Linked DNA regions of Homo sapiens: region 2 is linked to region 1. Evidence: promoter capture Hi-C in 16 types of primary human blood cells and fetal thymus (Javierre and others, 2016). All regions are on one chromosome and are shown on one strand. The core of a region is centred on a gene start or on the middle of the fragment in contact, and the rest is flanking DNA. Distances in the headings are between cores, read along the strand shown.

What was found. The method cuts DNA at HindIII sites, captures the fragments that hold promoters and counts their contacts. A CHiCAGO score of 5 or more calls a contact.
Region 2: a fragment that was not itself captured here is called in contact with the fragment with the promoter of OIP5 in region 1 in 2 of 17 cell types (naive CD4 T cells and naive B cells); the score reaches 5.8 in naive CD4 T cells.

Annotation. Positions count from the first base shown.
Region 1 is chr15:41,331,256-41,337,705 of GRCh38, reverse strand. It overlaps OIP5 (Opa interacting protein 5), which reads left to right and starts at 5,115. Exons shown (of 5, transcript NM_007280.2): 1 at 5,115-5,466; 2 at 5,725-5,791. The coding sequence starts at 5,145. NUSAP1 (nucleolar and spindle associated protein 1) reads right to left here and starts at 4,825. Exons shown (of 11, transcript NM_016359.5): 1 at 4,656-4,825. The coding sequence starts at 4,748. RefSeq lists enhancers at 1-345, 346-967, 5,102-5,361. The HindIII fragment of the contact is 1,308 bases long and covers 3,930-5,237 here.
Region 2 is chr15:40,907,611-40,913,515 of GRCh38, reverse strand. LOC105370943 (a long non-coding RNA gene) reads right to left here. Exons shown (of 2, transcript NR_135836.1): 2 at 4,165-4,687. Among named protein-coding and RNA genes, the nearest start is that of VPS18, 16 kb to the right of the region's middle. RefSeq lists an enhancer at 5,732-5,861. The HindIII fragment of the contact is 533 bases long and covers 1,316-1,848 here.

The sequences.
Region 1 (6,450 bases), core at 3,866-6,365:
ATGCCAAATGCTACTGATAGGCACAGGTGAGGGGAGAGAGGGAACACAAGCTTTGTAAGATGGCGACCTTAATAAAGCAATTTCAGTAGAAAAGAACAGAGAAATAGGGCAGTAGATGGAATGAGGACATGGGATCAGGAGAGGATTTTGGCTTTTTTATTTTTTTAAAAGATGGGTGATAGTAAAACATGATTGCATGCCTTATGGCAAATAAGCTAGCAGAGTGGAGAAATTAATGAGGAGAGAGGCTCTAATTGTAGGAATGTAGTCCTAGGGGAAGCAAGAGGGCCCAGGATCTTCAGCATAAATGGAAAGGTTGCCCTTAGACAGGCAAAGAAGCAGAGTATGTGGATGTAGATGCAGGGTGGCTAAAAGGTTTGGTGGTGGGGCCAAGCCTAGGGTCTCACGCCTGTAATCCCAGCACTTTGGGAGGCCAAGGCGCGAGGATCGCTGAATCTCAGGAGTTGGAGACCAGACAGGGCAACATAGTCAGACCTCATCTCTACTAAAATTCAAAAAAACACTGGCCAGGCAGGGTGGTCATGCCTGTAGTCCTAGCTACTCAGGGGGCTGCGGTGGGAGGATTGCTTGAGCCCGGGAGGTTGAGGCTGCAGTGAGTCCTGATTGTGCCACTGCACTCCAGAGAACTCCAGGCTGGCTGACAGAGCAAGACCCTGTCTCAAAAAAAAAAAAAAAAAAAAAAAAAGAAAAGGAAAGGAAAAAAAGGGGGGGATTTGGTGGTTGAACGATAAGGCAGTTTTCTGTTGATTGCATCTATTTTCCCATGACCTATGAGGTAAAGTCATCAAGGGAGGGAAGGGAACCAAGTTGAGTCAAGATGATAAAAAGTAATTATCCTCAAAAGTAGGAAAGTTCATGACTAAGAAGAAAATGGGCCAGGTGTGGTGGCACGTGCCTGTAATCCCAGCTACTTAGGAGGCTGAGGTGGGAGGATGTCTTGAACCTGAGAGGTTGAGGCTGCAGTGAGGCCTGATTGTGCCACTGCAGCCTAGGCAACAGAGCGAGACCTTATCTCAAAAAAAAAAAAAAAAAAAAACCAAAAGGAGGAGGATCAAATGCCCATATTAAGGTTTAGCGTTGCATATTTAAAATAAGTTCGCTCAACAAAGTTAGGTGTTTTCTCCAACTAGAGTTAGCTGCAGAGGTATAGGCAAAGATTAAGCACATAGCTGGGTTTAATCAGGCTTGGGTTTTGCCAGGTGAGTATAGGGAGGTGCAAGGAAGTGGAAATAGTGCCAGTGTTTGTAATTTAAGCTCGCAAGAAAGGAAGTGAGGGCATGAGTGACAACAGGACCAGTCGCCCCACTAACATTAATAACTGGCTCCTTCAAATTGCTATACCATTAAGAGAAGTCTCTCAAAAGAGGGAATATTATCTCCTATATATTTATTATTATTATTATTATTATTATTATTTTTAGACGGAGTTTCGCTCTTGTTGCCCAGGCTGGAGTGCAATGGTGTGATCTTGGCTCACTGCAGCGTCTGCCTCCCTGGGTTCAAGCAATTCTCCTCTCCTGCCTCAGCCTCCCGAGTAGCTGGGATTACAGGTGCCCCCTGCCACGCCTGGCTAAATTTTGTATTTTTAGTATAGATGGGGTTTTGCCATGCTGGCCAGTCTGGTCTCAAACTCCTGACCTCAGGTGAGACACCTGCCTTGGCCTCCCAAATGCTGGGATTACAGGTGCAAGCCACCATGCCCGGCCATAAATTTATTTTTAATAATATCATACTAGTAAAATTATCAAGATTTGATTAAAATAAAACATTACAATTTAAATAAATTTTACTAGTACAAATATACTAGTATACATAAAAATATAGTATATTTAGTATATTTATATTTATACTGGTATAATATAGTATATTTAGTATATTTATACCAGTATAATATAGTATATTAGTATATTTATACCGGTATAAATATAGCATATTTAGTATATTATACCGGTATAAATATAGTATATTTAGTATATTTATACTAAACATACATACTATATTTAGTATATTTATATTTAGTATATTTATATATTTAATATATTTATATATAGTATATTTAGTATATAGTATATTAAGTATAGTATTTATATTTATTTATAGTATAATATATTTAGTATATTAAATATATTTAGTATACATATTAGTATATATAGTATATTTAGTATATAGTATATCTATACTAAATATATATACTAATACACACTAAATACTAAATATGTAAATTTAGTATATTTATATAGTATATTTATAGTATATTTATCTAGTACATATAGTATATTAATATAGTATATTTAGTATATATAGTATATTTATATATTTAGTTTATTTTAGTGTATTTAGTATATTTAGTATCCTAGTATATTTATATATACTAGTATATATATTATATATTTATACTAGTAATAATATATATAGTATATACTAGTATAAATTATAAATTTTATTAGCATAATTATACTAGTATATTTATGCTAGTAAAATTTATTTAAATTGTAGTGTTTCATTTTAATCAAATCTTGATAATTTCTCAGAGCAATTTATTAATTTTTTTGCTATGTACTAAAATTTCAAAAGGCAATTGACTTAATGAGCTCTTAGGTTGTACCAAGTTAATAATTTAAAACATCTTATTATGGAAAATTTCAAACCTAAAAAAGTAGAGAGAATAGTGCAATCCCCCCATGTACCTATCTCCAGTTTCAGTAATTATTAACATTCTTCTGTTCTTACTTCATCTAGTTTCCCTCTCTTTTTCCTTGAGTATTTTACAGCAAATTTTACAGGTATCATAACATTTCACCTATAAATACTTGATTCACATATAAATACTTGATATGGGCCAGGCGTGGTGGGTCACGCCTGTAATCCCAGGACTTCGGGAGGCCGTGGCGGGAGGATCGCTTGAGCCCAGGAGTTCAAGACCAGCCTGGGCAAGATGGTGAAACCCTATCTCTACTAAAAATACACACACACACACACAGCCAGGCAGATAAAGGAGAAAGAAGGTGATCTGAGGCTAGAGGGTCAAAATGAGCAATGGGACAAAGATAGATAAAAGTGCCAAGTGTTCAGGGATGCAGCCTTGGATAAAAGATTCTAGCTAGGCAGCAAAAAAGCCTAAGGAATTTAGGCTGAGATATTAAGGCTTTGTTTACGAAGTATAGAGGAGCCACTAACCACTACAGCCCAGAAATATCCCCAAGGAAAACCCTTTGGTCATTCAGCCCCAACAGGCACTTAGGCCCTGATTATTTTGTTTAAACAATTTAGGTCGGGTGGGGTGGCTCACGCCTGTAATCCCAGTACTTTGGGGGCTGAGGCGGGCGGATCAGGAAGTCAGGAGTTCGAGACCAGCCTGACCAACATGGTGAAACCCCATCTCTACTAAAAATACAAAAATTAGCCAGGCGTGGTGACACGCGCCTGTAATCCCAGCTACTCAGGAGGCTGAGGCAGGAGAATCGCTTGAACCCAGGAGGCGGAGGTTGCGGTGAGCCGAGATGGCGCCACTGCACTCCAGCCTGGGCGACAGAGCAAGACTCCGTCTCAAAGAAAAAACAAACAAACAAACAAATAAAAAAAAAATTGTGACGATTGATTTAAGCATTTACTCACTGTCAGTATCACAGCCTGCAGGAGAAACCTCCAGAGTATATAGCAGTATTATGTGGGAAGTCTCAACTATTAACAAAATATATAAAACCGCTATCCTACATTAAATCCCCAAATCTTCTTCTAACATCTTGGGTTTTTTGTTTGTTTTTGTTTTGTTTGAGACTGAGTCTCTCTCTGTCACCGAAGTTGGAGTGCAGTGGTGCGATCTTGGCTCACTGCCACCTCGGCTTCCCAGGTTCAAGCGATTCTTCTGCCTCAGCCTCCCAAGTAGCTGGGATCACAGGCAAAAAGCTTGGATCACAGGCGTGTGCCACCACGCCCGGCTAATTTTTTAAGGGCCAGGCTGGTCTCGAACTCCTGACCTCAGGTGATCCGCCTGCCTCGACCTCCCAAAGTGCTGGGATTACAGGCGTGAGCCACAGCGCCGGGCCAACTCTCCAAACATCTTGTAGCCTCGGAGTCAAAGACCTTACTGGTTTTGATAGAGACCATCAACCCAACAGTCATCAATAAAAATTTACCCAAGGAGGTGCTCCCCTAAAAGTCGATTTTTTTTTTCTGACAGGTCCATCAATAAAGTATCAAGAGATTATCGGCAATATTACAAATCACTGGAGTCTGTTTGGGGTTTTCCAGAAGCTGAGCCAATTATTTACTTAATTGTCTAACGATTAACGACACCCCTTGTGCTTTCTGGGCCTGAGTTTCGTAATCGACGCCCTGAGAGGTATACAGTAATTTCAAAACAAAACAAAACAAAAAACAATAAACCATCCCTCGGAATAGAGCTTATCATGTGAGCACCCAGACAAGCCAGCTTCAAAATGAGGTGAAAACTACAGTTCCTCTTCCGTTTATCAGAGTTCTAACTGGGACTACCGTGAACCACATCTACTGCCCGAGGGGCAGGGAGAGCTGCCTCAGTCCCGGGCTTCCCTCTCGGTCCCTTCGCACCGCATCTCCCCGAGGCCGCTATTCCCGCCGCGCCCGCCCAGGGACCCGCACCGCCAGCGCCGTACCCTCAGGTTGGCCCGGAGACCCAGACTCTTGGCTAAGTTCTGCAGGTCACTGTACTTGAGGGAGTCCAGCTCCTCTAGAGAGGGGATGATCATCGCGATTCGAAATCCCGGCGATACTCGGAAGATGGATCACCAAACTTCGTCAGCGCGGTTCAAATCCCTGGCGCCACTCTTAACTTTGACTAGGCAGAAATTTATAGACAGTTTAAATGAAGAATGCCGCGCTTCCATTGGTTGAAAATGCCTCAAAGGCGGGGTTTCTAACCCTGACCAATAGAAAGGCTGATTTCCCGTCCCAACAGAGGCGCGCTTTTTTCACACTTCACGAATACGCAGGCGCCAAAGGGCCTGTAACGCCTGTTCAGGTAACGAGTGCGCGGACTCGGACTCCAGTGCTTGGATTGCCCATGATGTCCAATGAGGACGCAGGAGCTGTGCTTGGGGCGGGGCCTGGCGTGTATTCGAAAGGAAGGCGCCGGCTGCGGGAAGATGGCGGCTCAGCCGCTGCGGCATCGCTCACGTTGTGCAACGCCGCCCCGGGGGGACTTTTGTGGTGGCACTGAGAGGGCGATTGACCAAGCTTCTTTTACGACCTCCATGGAGTGGGATACGCAGGTGGTGAAGGGGTCCTCGCCGCTCGGCCCCGCAGGGCTGGGGGCTGAGGAGCCAGCCGCCGGCCCGCAGCTGCCGTCTTGGCTGCAGCCTGAGAGGTGCGCTGTGTTCCAGTGCGCACAGTGTCACGCAGTGCTCGCCGACTCGGTGCACCTCGCCTGGGACCTGTCGCGGTCCCTCGGGGCCGTGGTCTTCTCCAGTGAGTGCAGTGAAGCGTTCGGGAAAGGCAGAGGCTAGCCCGAGAGGGTGTTCCCGCTTTCTCCACCGGGTGGCGGAGAACCACCTGGGGAAGAAAACGGGATGAAAAGTTGGAAGCAAATAACTCCTTGGCCTGGGGATGGGGCAGGGAATCGGGGAGTCTCCTGATATTTACGGCCAGGATGAGTCTGTCTAGAGGAGAGATTTTCCATTTCAAGGCCCGCAGAGTATGGGTTCTGACCCGTGTTTGTCTTCCTAGGAGTTACAAATAACGTCGTTTTGGAAGCGCCCTTCCTAGTTGGCATTGAAGGTTCACTCAAAGGCAGGTACGTATTGATAATTACATTGGTCTCTAGTCCCTGACTTTATGAGACTGAGGATCGTGGAACTGACATGTACGAGGAGAAAACAGTTTGGGATGCTGCTTTTACCTGTTTGACTCTTATATGAACTTGATGTATTAATGAAATGAAAAAGTTGTATTTGTGTATTGGTTTTAGGATCTTCCTGAGGGCCACTTCTCCCAGGTGGCTTGTACAAGTGAAGTGAGGCTAAGAAAGATGTATCTAGTAGTGGACAAAAGAAAAAAATAACCTTTTGGTTTACAGTGAGAATAACATACTATAAACTACAATCCTTTTAGATATTAGAACTTTTTGATACAGGGTCTTGCTCTCGCCCAGGCTGGAGTGCACTGGTGCGCTCATAGCTCACTACAGCCCCTACCTTCCTGGCTCAAGCTATCCTCCCAACCTCACCCTCCGGAGTAGCTGGGACTACAGGCACACAGCACCACTCCCGGCTAATTTTTAAATTTTTTGTAGAGGCCTTAGTATGTTGCCCACGCTTGATATTAGAACTTTTAAGTTTGCGATTATGGTTAGTTTGTAATAAGCTATGCCAGGGCTAATTCTTCAGTAACCCCAGAAACTGGAGAAAAACACAACTAGAATGTTATGTACTTGAATACTGCCTGGTAAACTTT
Region 2 (5,905 bases), core at 333-2,832, 420 kb after region 1:
GAAACGCTTGAACCTGGGAGGCGGAGGTTGCAGTGAGCTGAGACTGCCCCACTGCACTCCAGCCTGGGCAACAAGAGCAAAATTCCATCTCCAAAAAATATATAAATAAATAAAATATTTAATAATAAATAATGTTTTAAAATAAATAATATTTAATATGTGTTTTGACTGTAGTGTATAATCTATGCATAAATATTCACAATCAAAAAAGTTTGGGAGGCCAGACACAGTGGCTCGCGCCTGTAATCTCAGCAATTTGGGAGGCCAAGGCAGGAGAATCTCTTGAGGCCCCAAGTTCAAGACCAGCCTGGGCAACATAGTGAGACCCCCATCTGTTTAAAAAAAAAAAAAAAGTCTGGAGACCACCATCCTGGAAGATCAGTGAGGGCTTTACATCCTATTGGAAGCCAGTTTCAGGCTGGGTGCTGGGGTAGGGGAAGGGAGTGTGGAGGAGGGGCTGGTGCGCTCCAGGTACAGGACCACGCAGCAGTCTGGATATTCCTGGCCACCACTGGTCCCCACGGCCTCCTTCTCCCTGTTCCCCCTTTAGGCCTGCGTAAGTCTCAGGGGTTCTAGGACCCTAGCTGCCAAGCTCCCTGCAAGGGAGAGAGTGGTCCTGGGTGACCGACACACTCCCCTGCCCCTCAGGCTGGCTGATGTGTGGCTCAGTGAGGCTAGGGTCCTTGTAGCTGCCCTGCATTCCATGTCATCCCCAGGAGAAAAGTCCCTGGCGGGAGGCGGCCCTCTGCCGGGAGGCTGTTTCCTCAAGCAGCCAAGGTAAGAAGTGGGGGATTTCCAGCCCAACCCGTGGGGCTGACTTCAGTACTGGGGGCTCCTCTCCTTTCTCATGCAGCCAGGCTGGGGTGAGCACACAAACGCTGGAGTTAGACCTGGTTGTGGGCAAGAGCATGTGGGGGCAGTGGAGTTAGCTAGGCCTGAAAGCCTGCAGCTGCCACGCCCTGCTCAAGAGAACCCCAGGGCTGTACCTGCAACCAACAGAGACCCAGCCCTGGAAGACCCCAACAGGCATCTCAGGGAGGGGACAGGGGTCTGGAAATCCAGCACCATACTTACTCATGGGCTTGTGGGGAATGACTCAAATTGATGAATGCCCCTGCTTAACCCCAGGTTCTGCCCCAGGGCTGCTGGGCGGGCCTGGTGGTAAGCGAAATGGCAGGTCTAAATCTCATCTCACAAGGCAGCATTAATTAGCCAGCACTTCCAAGGATGCTGGAGAGTCAAGGGAGCCAAGTTGGACCCATCAGGAGCTGGGAGCCAGAAGCCCCACATCCCAGACCATCTTGCCCTGAAAGCTTGGCCCACAGGAAAGGGGAGCTATCCCATACAGCATTCCCTCTATCCCTGCACTGCGCTCCGCTGGGCAGGGAGGGTGGGTGCAATCCTGGAGGCCAAATGGAGGAAGAGGGAGGAAGCCATAGTGCCCTGGTGATGGTGGCACACATGGACGTCCCAGCTCAGGCCTGTGGAAGGGCTTAGGAAACAGACTTTTCCTCTGCTCTTATTGAGTCTCCTGTGCCTCAGATACGCTTGTGAATTTTCATTTCATTACCCAGCTCATATGTTTGCTGAGTACACATGTATGTGCAGGCCTGTGTGATTGAGACATGCCAGGTCAAGGAACAGGCAGGAATTTATGCAAGGTTGCTGAGCAGAAGGAGAGGACCTGAAAAGTGAAATAATAGTCCAGCCACCACCATTGTAGGCTAGCAATGTGTCAAGACCTGAGCCAGGGGTTTTACATGCATTATTACCAATCTGCCCAGCAGCCAACCCTCTGAGGGAGGTATTATTATCTCCATTTTATAAATCGATAAATTGAATGAAGCTTAGAGAAGTTAAGTGACCAGCCTGAGGTCATGCGGTGAGCAAATCTAGGCCAGGATTTGAACCCGGTCAGTCTAAGGCCAAGCCAGAGATGTCTCCACCCAACTCTCTTGGTGTGGTCCTCCTCCATTACGCCCCATCTGTTCCTTGTCTCTGAGGCCCTGGCTGCCCTGGTCTGAGGTAACAGTTCCCTCCCCTCCTCCTCTCCCCTCCCGGCCAGGCAAGGTGGAAACACAGAGTTTGTTTGAGGCCTTGTGGAGCCCGAGAAGCAGTGAGCAGACCTTCACACCAGTCCAGGCCGGGTTCAAAGAGGGTCTGGCTGGCCCTGGGTGTGGGGGGGATCAGCTAGGGCTGAGCTGGGGCAGCTGTTTACAGTAAACAGAAAGCTCTTGAGGAAGGAAGGAGGGGAGGGGCTGGGGTCGTCATGGAGACAGGGACGAGCAGACAGGCCTCAGCCTTGATCCACAATGACTGGTAACGCATCCTTGCCTTCCAGAGCAGAGGAGGCCCAGGGAAGGTTGGGACAAGTCAGCCGGAGCAGGAGAGGCAGGGGCAGACAGGTCTGGCCCGGGGCAGACTCGCTAAGAACACACTCCCACCTCTTTGTGCCTTTCTACTTATTATTAACAATCACAACGCCTGCTTCTTGAGTTCTCACAGTACGTCTGGTGCGAGGCCCTTGAGAATATGTTTTCTTATTTAATCCCAACAATAGCCAGGTGGTAGGTACGATAATAGTCTCTAATTTATAGATGAGGAAATTGAGGTTCAGAAAGGTTAAGCAATTTGTCAAGGTCAAACAGCTTGTAAGTGACATAGCAGAAATTCCAGATCAAAAACTCTTTCCACCAAGGCGGGTAGGAGATGAGCTAGCTGGTGAAACTCTGAGCCCCTCAGATGGTGGGGAAACTGAGTCCCTTAGGTGTTAAGGGGACTTTCCCAGGCTTCTGGTGTTAGTCAAAGAGATTGCCGGGAACAGAACCCATCTGTTCTAGCCCTAACCACTAGACCACACGGCTTCTCCATGGCTTCAGCTGGGAAGGTCCAAAGAGAAACTCCCTTTCTAGCCCCAGTGTGGAGTGTAGACTCTTCCCCAGCTAACACGGTTATCCCTGCGGAGGCCAGGCTGGGCCAGGGTGCAGTGGGGGATGCTGGGGGGTTTCTGCCCACACATATGGTTTCCAGATTCCAGGGGATGAAAAGGAGGCCCTTAGGGGCGGAAATGGGGGATGTGTGATGACAAATTTAGACTGATTGCTTAAAAAAAAAAAAAGAAGCCAAGAAACCCTATAAAATAAAAGCAGAAATTCCACTAGAAAACCAGAGGGAGTTATTTGATTGTGAAACTGAGTGCCACGAGGCGTGCATAGTTTAATGTGGAACAATATCTAGGGTTCTTCCAACTTTGACTGTTCAGAGGATGCCGGGGAGGGAAGGAGGCTCTGTCTGCTGTTCCTGCTTCACCTGCTGGGGCCTGGGACAGGGAGCTAGTCGGGAAGGACACCTGGGAGGATGTCTGGAGTCGGGGCACTTGCAAGCGTCCTGCCGGCTGTGGCCAAGGATCCACACTGGCTCACATGGAGAGCGGCCCAGTGGAGGCTCCAGCTGGTCCGCACTGAGAGCATGGGGAAGGATGAGCTGGAAGCTGGGGGTTTGGGGTATCTCTGAGTTCCAGCCTTAGAGGGAAAGACCAGGAACAAAAGGTAAAAGAGAGAACATCTGCCTGGTATTCTGGTCGGCAGCAGGCCCAAGGGGTCAAAGGTCAAGGGGAGGACAAGGGGGACTTCCTGAAGCTCCCGGGAGAGTGCCAGCCAGGCCGACTGTTGTGCAAGTTCTGGGCTGGCCTGCGAGGGCAGGCTGGCAGAGGAGTCATGCCTGATCAGCGGCCAGCATGGTGTCTGCCCAGCCCTCTTGGCCTGTCCTATGAGACTCCTGGAGCTGGAGTAGTGCCCTGTCTCCTTTCCTTCAGGGAACCAGGACCCCCATCCCAAGGAAGCACTCTTGTCCCACCTGTGGCCATATTCTACATGCCTGTGGGCTTCCTCTCATTCTCATCCTGAACCTCTTTTCCTTAGAATCGCCATTGTTCAAGAAACCAGAAAAACCTACTCAAGCAAGCTTCTTTCTTCCAATTCCACTCTGATATCTGAAGAAGTCAGAGGGCCTTGTGAGGGATGAGCTGGGACAGGTCTCAGGGTCCTACGCCTACAGAAAGGAGGTGCAGAGTAAAAGGGAAGAGGGGCAAGTGCCCAGGGCTGCTTGGGCGCCAGGCCCTGGGCTACCTTGACAGATGGGCGGCACCGCTCTCATTTCAGCCTCACAAGAGCCTTTCCAGGTCTGTAACAGTTATTCACATTTTACAGGAGAAGAAATTGAGTTTCCAAGGGCTTGATTAGCCTGATGCTGGTAATGGCAGAGCAGAGACTTGCACTTGCTCTTTACAGATTATGTCCTTGTTCCTCGGTTCAACCCATTTTGGCTGGAGATGGAAAATGAGTATAAAGAAGGACCTAGGATGGTGCCCTGCTCACGACCAGCATGGGAACACAGTTAATCAAGGCTGAATCTCACGGACAGGGGCAGGATCCAGGATGGAGCCTCCTGTTAGCTACCAATTTGTCTTCTGCAATTCAGCAGCTGTAAAGTCAGGAGGTGGGATCAGCAGCACAATGTCTTTCAAACTCGGTTCCTGGGCATCCTGGCATCTTATGGATATCGTGATAGGGGGCCGGGCACAGTGGCTCATGCCTGTAATCCGGACACCCTAGGAGGCTGAGGTGGGAGGACTGCTTGAAGTCAGGAGTTCAAGACCAGCCTTGGCAACCTAGCAAGACCCCCGTCACTACAAAAAATAGAAATAAAAATTAGCCAGGTGTGGTGTCTGTAGTCCTTGCTACTCAGGAGCCTGGGGTGGGAGGATCACTTGAGATCAGGAATTAAAGGCTGCAGTGAGCTATGATGGCGCCACTGCACTCCAGCCTAGGCAATAGAACAAGGTGTTGTTTCTATTAAAAAAAAAAAAAAAAAACAGAGAGAGAGACATTGAGATAGGAGTGGAGAACAGGCTGAGTGAACAGGAGTGTGGGTCCCTCCAGCCCAGTTTCCATCGGAGAATCTCAGCATACCAATTTCAAGTACTGGACATTCATGAATGTTTTTATTTGAACAAGGCTTCCACAGCACTTTATAGTCTCTATCTGAGGTCTCTGCAGCTCTGGCCTGCTGGGAGTTGTGAACGGTTTAGGTCCTGGCCTGGGAAGAGAAACCAGAGGACCTGGTAAAGGAAGTAGGGTTCACCTTCTAGCCCTGTGGAGATGCCGCGAGGGAACAGGTCAAGGGTCAGAGCTGGGAGATCATGCCATGGAGGGAAGGTGAGCTGCAGCCACCTGCCTCTGCACCTGGCAAACACAAACAGACCTTTGGCCACAGCAGCCTGGGAACCAGAAGCAGCAGCCACCTTCCGGGGGGCCAGACCAGTGCCCCTTTCCCTTTTCTCTGCCCAAGCTTATTCTCAGTGGACATGGGTTGCTGGCCACCAAACTAAGGCCGCGCAGCCTCTCCTGACCTCACGGTATGGTTTCTGACTGCTCAGTAAGGGCTGGTTCAAGGTGAAAGCTGAGCCACGGTAAAGCTGCTCAGGGAGAGGAAAGCACCCAATTACTGGGCATTCAGAGAGTGGGGCCAATCCCCTTGAAATGACAACCCTATTTTGTGACCCTTTTATTGGCCATCCTGGACCAAAGTTTGCCCCTCTGCCTCAGTTTTCCTTTTGGGAATCCAGGCATGAGAATGGTGGCCCTCTCCTGGTGGCTTCAGCACGTATGGCTCCCTGAATATCATCTCCATGCTCCAGGTGGAGGAGAAAGCTGAGGGCTCCAGCTGCCCAAGCACCAGAACTTTCTAGCATCCTCCTATCCCAGTGCCCGCCCCAGGCCTGCCTCTGACCACCATTCACCCTCAACCTGCTGCAGGGCCCAGCCTCACCCCACATAAGCAAAGCTGCCAGCAGCGTCCTTTGTGGTGCTGCTCCCGTGTGGCACTGCCTAGGGGCCCCACCATG